2 separate regions of the Homo sapiens genome follow, and region 2 is linked to region 1. Evidence: promoter capture Hi-C in human tissues and cell types (Jung and others, 2019). All regions are on one chromosome and are shown on one strand. Each heading gives the region's core, a stretch centred on a gene start or on the middle of the fragment in contact. The rest is flanking DNA. Distances are from core to core; before and after follow the strand shown. Region 1 holds the start of HCRTR2 (hypocretin receptor 2). Region 2 has its middle 41 kb from the start of HCRTR2.

The links. The method cuts DNA at HindIII sites, captures the fragments that hold promoters and counts their contacts. A contact is called where the count stands out against the background at its distance.
Region 2: a contact is called between a fragment that was not itself captured here and the fragment with the promoter of HCRTR2 in region 1, in 4 of the 25 tissues and cell types used here (H1 embryonic stem cells, adrenal gland, heart right ventricle and 1 more).

What each region holds. Positions count from the first base shown.
Region 1 is chr6:55,172,709-55,176,380 of GRCh38, reverse strand. HCRTR2 (hypocretin receptor 2) reads right to left here and starts at 1,866. Exons shown (of 7, transcript NM_001384272.1): 1 at 1,571-1,866. The coding sequence starts at 1,793. The HindIII fragment of the contact is 12,053 bases long and covers 1-3,672 here.
Region 2 is chr6:55,131,739-55,135,266 of GRCh38, reverse strand. It overlaps a transcript of HCRTR2 not described here. Among named protein-coding and RNA genes, the nearest start is that of HCRTR2, 41 kb to the left of the region's middle. The HindIII fragment of the contact is 3,256 bases long and covers 1-2,975 here.

The DNA of each region.
Region 1 (3,672 bases), core at 617-3,116:
AACAAGAATCCTAATCTTGTGTATTTCCACTTTTGTTTCATTTTGTTAGTATCCCAAAAAGATTTCCTTTATTTTTACTTTTAAATCAACCAAAGGAAAACAGTCTAAAAATAATATTTAAAAATGTACTAAAGTTCTCAGAGGTTTCTTGTCTCCTCAAATAACATTCTACCAACACTCTGGAGAACTCCTGTCATTCACATACTATCATCTATTCTGCCTGCTGAGTTGGTGAGAGACTACTCGGGATGATTTCTACCCAGACCAACACACTTGGGAGAGAAGGCAAAAATCAGGTTAGTCTGAAAGCCTGATAATTTCCTTGTCAGTCCCCATTGCAGCTACAAGTTCTTTGCTTTTGACTGCAAAGCCTCCCAGCCTATCTCACCTCACTCACCTTCTTCTTCTTTTATAAATGAAAATCAAGAGCAACTCCTAGCCTCCTCCATCTCCTGTCATTTTCAGCAGAGACTTCCTCCACACTGCCCTCTGCATGTGAAAAGTCTCCCAGCCTTCTACTCTTCATTCATCAAGGTACACTCTCCTTCCATTCACAATTTATTTCAAGTTATCCCTCCCTTCCAAAGCCCCTTTTCTGGAGGTATATTCCCCAACTGCCCTAATACATTCCATCATCGCACTCACCATGTTGCCATCTCACCCCCTCCCCAACCCTCAGAAATTGTTTAGGGGGAGGGGGATGAGGGGTCGAGGAAACCCGTGTTTGCATACAGACCTAGACCGGGACAAATAGCCTAGCATTAAGCTTAGTCTCATCTTTGGAGAAAACAAAACAAAACAAAACAACAACAAACAGTTGACATGAATAATTCCTGAGCCTGGCAACAAGCAGACTGAAAAAAAAAAATATTTGGCTGAATGGATGTAAGAATGAATGGATGGATGGATGATTGAGATCTCTGTGGTACTTTTCTCCGATGCCCCTCCTTCTTGCTCCAGGCATGGATCCTGTTTAATTCAGCTTCTATGAGTGAGTGCACTTCCCTGCTTTGCCTCCGTCTCCACTCCCTGCTGGTTCATTACCACCTCTTGACTGGAGACTAAACCTCCTCGCCAAAGGGCAATGCCACCTAGCTCACAAATGCTTTGTGACTTCCACAGCCACAGAGAGCTTGCTCCTTAGGGATGTAGCTTTGTATTCTGCAAGCTCTGTCTCGTCCCAACCCCCCTGAAACACCCAGCCACGTTACACAAAGGGATGACTGACTCCCCCACCTACCCACCCACACACACACACACTCAACAAAATCCACCTGGAGATCCCTGCCGCGGCCCCTCTCCCTGCGCTTGTAATCTAGGTGCTCGAAAAAGAAACGCGGTTTCCCCGTTATTCCTGCAAAACAGGGAATAACCTTTCCAGGGCTCGGTCCCGGTTCGGAAAATCAGAAAACTTTCTATTATTATTATTATTTTATTAGAAAACCCCATCCGAGAGCAGCGACCTCTTTGTTTGCTTCCCGGGGGAGGGAGGGGTCTCTTTAGAGCCTTCTCAGCCCGGGGCGGAGAGGGGGTGATAGCCCCTAGGAGGGCTGCCCGGGAGGAGACTCACCCAGGACGTTCCCAATGAGAGCCACGACGAACACGATGATGTACCCGGCGATCAGGACCCACTCATATTCTTTCGGGTGCAGGTATTCCCTCCACAGGTACCGCAGGAATTCCTCGTCGTCATAGTCGGTGGGGTTTAAAAAGGGCTCTTGAGTTTCATTCAGCTCCGAAGCAGATGACCAGTTGCGACAAGGGGGGGAGTCCTCCAATTTGGTGCCGGACATCACGGGCTCAAGTCCGGTTCCGCTCAATGCTGCAAGCTCCTCTCCGCCTGCCCCATGAGCACTGGTGATTTGCGGTGGGAAAGGCTGCGCGGAGAGGCTAGAAGGGGCTCCCGAGCAGAAAATGACGTGAAAAGTTACTGAGCCAATGCCTCCGGAGTCTTCTGCCGGGCAACTTCTGCGGTGGCTTTGCTGTCTTTACAGGCGATGTTGCACCGGGAAGATAGGCAGCTGAGGAACTAGGGACCCGGCACTGGAGGCTGCAGCAATGACACCAGGAGGAGAAAGCTACGTCCGGCTCAGCTGAAGCTCAATTACTCCTCATTCCAGCACTCAGTCCGCAGCCCACAGCCTCCTCCCTCGCTGAGGGAGAGCTGAAGCTGAAGAAAAAAAAAAAAGTAATGAAAACTAATTTAATCTGTTTTTTTGGGGGGTGGGGGGTGAGAGTTAAATCTCTCTCTTTTTCTACTTATTTTCTCTATTTTTACGTGCACTTATTATAAACCATGCACAGACATGCATCAGTCTGTGGATATGACAAAAATGTCAACATACAATTAATACAGAGCATGTTGATACATTTGTCTTTGTAAAGCAAATATAAAAGCAATAAGGAGGTGCCTCTGTGTTTCTCAAGCAGGACAATGGAAAAGTCATTCCAGGCAAACACTTTAACATTTAATATAAACTTATTTTAACATTTGACATTTGCCAACTTAGTACTTGCCGAGTCTTTAAGACATCTCCGTCTTCACTTTCTCCTTAAAATTTGAGAATGAGACTGTTTTTAAACTGAAGGGTCTATTTAGCTGGAATTTGTATTTGCGATAGTTAAGTGTCATGTGAAATAGAGCTACAAATTCTTGAAGGACGCCAAGTGTCATAAATATGATCATAGTTAATGTTGTCAAGCATGACAGACCACCAATATACTCAATGATATTAAACATTCACTGTAGGATGTAGCAATCTAAGCAGAAGTGCTCTCTCTGGTAAATACCACATCCCATTGGGTCTTTCTTCCCATTGATTCAGGGCTGATGTCACCTGCCATTCTCTCATGCACTGGTTTTGTCTCTAATAATAAGTATTCTAGCATTTGTCAGAATGTGAATTCATGATCCTTTTATTCTTAATAAACATGGTAAAAATATTGCATTTAAGTAATTACAATCTTGCACTTGGGAAGAGCCTGGAAATCTTGTCTGAACTTCAGCTTCAGAGTAGAAGCCTCCTGATAACATTGCTGACATGTCCCCATCTAGCTTGAATGTGACCACCACAATTCACTACTTCCATCCTTATGGGAGTGCTCTAAGGGTGAGAAAACTGTTTCTTACATTAAACCAAGGTCTCAAGCCACGATTTGTCTTTTTGAGACTTTTACCTCTAATTCCTAGTTTGCATCTTGGTGCTACACAGAATAAATCTTCCACATGACAATGCTTCACAGATTCAAAATAAACATCACAGCCCCAGCGCTCCTTTATATGCCCTCATGTTTCTTTTTTAGTATTTTTCTTTTCAATGTTGTTCAAATGACAGTAGCTCCCACCTACATCTGTTTGGTCTTCCTTTAGACAATTGTCAATATCTTGCAAAATATGTAACTGGGAGGAAGTAACAATAATATGGTTTGAGTCTTGCCAGTGCAAAAAGTACATTATTCTTTGGATGCAACCAGTTTTTATATGTAATTATTTTTTCAACACACACAAGACATTGGTGGTTTACACTGAGATTTAGTTAACTACCCCACCCCCTCCTCCAATCATAATTTTTCATATTTGTTTTGTGCTTTATGGTTTATAAAATTATTTCATATGCATTTTTAAACCCCTGAGGGCTTAGCTATTACTAACCCCCTTTAATAGATGAGGAA
Region 2 (3,528 bases), core at 98-2,597, 41 kb after region 1:
AACAAAAGTCTAAGTGTTTTGCTGGATACTCTAGCATGAGACCTCAAAGTCATTTTTAATCCTGTATATTTCCTTGTTCCAAACCCAATTAATGGCCAAATTTGGACAAATATTTTTTACAGTAGAGTCTTTACCATTCACTTTCTGTTGCCATTTCATTAATTCCTCATCTTTCCACTGCTTCATTACTCTGGGCTTTCCACCACATTCTTTGCTACTAGCGAAGCTTTCTTCATCCTTGTTGAAGTAAATAGAAGACTTGGTTTTTATTTTTCCTTCCAAGGATATAGATTTCAGAAGAAATATCTGCACTCCATGTTCATCACAGTATTATTAATAATTGCCAAAGTATGGAAATAACCTAAGTGCTGACAAATGAATAAAGAAGAAAATATTTCATATACACACAGAGAAAGAGAGAGAGAATGAAATATTATTCAGTCACAAAAAAGAAGGAAATCCTGCCATTTGCAATGACATGGATGAACCTGGAGGACATTATGCTAAATGAAATAAGCCAGACACAGCAAGACAAATACTGTATGATGTCGCCTGTATGTGGAGTCTTAAAAAGTTGATCCCATAGAAAGAGAATAAAATGTGTAGTTACCAGGGTCTGGGAGAGGGAGGGCAGTGGAGAAAATGGGGAGATGTTGGTCAAAAGATACACACTCTCAGTTATAAGATGAATAAGATCTGGGGATCTAATATATAGCATAGTGACTATAATTAATAATATTGTACTATATACTTGAAATTTGCTATGAGGGTAAATCTTATGCTCTCACTATACATACACACACACACACACAAATGGTACCTATGTGAGATGATGCATGCGTTAATTAATGTAATTTTAATCATATAACTATATATATGGGCATCCAGTTATCATATTATAAATTTTTTGCCAATTATATCTCAATAAACCTGGAAAAATAAATAATGACAAATATAAATTTCTTTATCATACTGTGTTCTGTTTTGCTTGAAAAGATTTTGATAGAAAATTTTAGAGTGAGTTGAAGCAAAAAACAAACAAACAAACAAACAAAAACAGAATAATCAGTCTCCTCAACTTAAAAGGACTATCACCCAACTTATGAAATTCACTAGATAACCATAGAAATAAAATGTGCTTAGTTTGTTTTGCCACAATTTTGGTGGAGAAATGAAGAGGTACGTAAGAAGTGGGGGAATCAAAGAAAAAAGAAAAGAAATAAGAAATGTATATGTTCCTAAGATGTGTGAATTTTCATTAGGACAATTTCATTTACTAAGTGACATTTGACCAGTTAACTAAATGATAAATATTCTCACTTGCTGTATAAGAAAAACTGTTTGTAATAACCACTTTTTATACTATGTTATGGCAATAGAATGAAATCAAGAAATTTTTTATAAAAGAAAAACAGCCATATAGGTTCACTTCTGCTAAAATTATTAAATTATTTAAGAAAGAAATATTAAAGGTAACCAAGTAGTAGATTTATTCCTAATATAAAAAGCTATGTTTGAGCTTAAAAGAATACCAAGACAGACAAACATGCCTAGATGGAGATATAGATAGATAGATAGATAGATAGATAGATAGATAGATAGATGATAGATAGATAGATAAATACATGTAGATATATAGCTATGTCTTCGTTCTTAGAACGTACAATGTTTCATTGCCAACAGATATCCATACTGGCATGAAAATTGATGTTAGTGAGGTCATCAATAAGTTATTCCTGACTTTCAGATCACTATGCAGCAATTGAAGAAAGCTTTGAAATGGATATCATAATTTTACTTTGGACATTTGTTATTCCTAACTTGATGCATACCCCTTCTGAATTTTAGAAATGCCTTGATGTGTGTGTGTGTGTGTTTTTTTGTGTGTGTGTATGTGTATATGATCTCTCTCTCACACACATACATTTATGGAAACAAAGCAAGGGGGAAGAATATGTCTGTTAGCTTCAATTTTGCATGCATAAAAATGTATGAGAGAAAGGACTGAAAACAAGAGCAAAGAAGACATAGGAGACAGGAAATGTCAGGCTTGCTAGACTGTACCGAGGTAAAAAAAATTTACTCTAAAAATAAGTCCTACCATTTTACTTATTGGTGGTAATTTGATTTTGTATTCAACACAAACATATTGTATCAATTAACGATTAAATCAACCTTGTTATCTTACCAAGCTAAGACTAATGTTGCACAGTGGATATCAGCATTTCAGGGATCTTACTTTGAGATTATCAGCTATCCCAGTTTTTAAGGATTGTTTGAATATAACTGCACAAAACACTAGTTTATCCTCTATTGGTTTTGAAAAGTCTTCTGTAACTTAAAAGCTGTGGTCATCATGGGTCTCTGGTGTCTATGTAAAAAACTGTTTGGTTGATTATTTTCCCCAAAGAATGATTCATGAAGATCAACCCCATCTAAACATAAAGCAATACCACTTTCAAACACTTTGTTTGTTTGTTTCTCTTTATAATTTTCAGCGAAAAAAAAAAAAAAAGAGAGAGAGAGAGGGAGAGGTATAAATGGAGTTGGTCTGAGTAGGGCTCCACTGTCCCATTCCTTTGCTCCCTAACCATGTCTTCTTTCCCTTAAGCTTAAGAGCTGACCTCAATCTGAAACGTATGTCCTACTGGGGTAGCTCATCTTTGAATAACTGTTTATAATCTATGTCTCCCAAAAAACATTTAACTTTAATGCACCACATTCCATCTGTTTCTCTGTTCTTGAGGCTAATTGTGTAACATCTAATGCTGTTAACGTACTCCAGGATTGGCATGCATAGTGTGTCAATATTCCTTTTTCTTGTGCCCCTGGCACATATAGATAATCAATAACTACATTCTTTTCCACTTTGCCCAGACATCTTTAGAATCCTTCTCGCTACTGCACTTCAGACAGTCTATAGCAGTTAATCAAGGCTAAAACCTACTTGCTACCCTTAGGTTACTCATTCTCACTTAAAATGTGTGCATTTTATGAAAGAGTTTAGGAGACACAATGATTGCCCTCAAATTTACTTTTATTATGACAACTTGTTATTAAATTAACAAATCATATATATGTATGTGTTTAATAGACTTTTGTGATAGTCATTAACTTTTATATGTTTATTCAAAAATATAAAATTAAAGTGTTATTCAAAGATTATTAATTTTATTAATTAAAGGGATATCTATATATGTTTAGAATTGGCCACAAACACATGTACAACTCATGCTATTTATTTAGTCTACAGAAAAACCTTGCTGAGAGTATGAATTTAAGGCATTATTCTGTCATTTTTGCCCCTAAAACGCATTGCCTTTAAATTGATTATAAAGCTTGCCACATGGTTTCATAGTTGCTTCATTTCCAGGTTCATTTACTAGCTCCTTGGAAACAGGAGTTTCTTATTTTCCTCAGCACCATATGCAGAGTTTTTCACATAGTATTGGCATGACAAATACTTAAAGAGTAAATAATTGACTAAGTGGATAAGATGTTATTTTTCAACAAGTGCTCTTATATTAC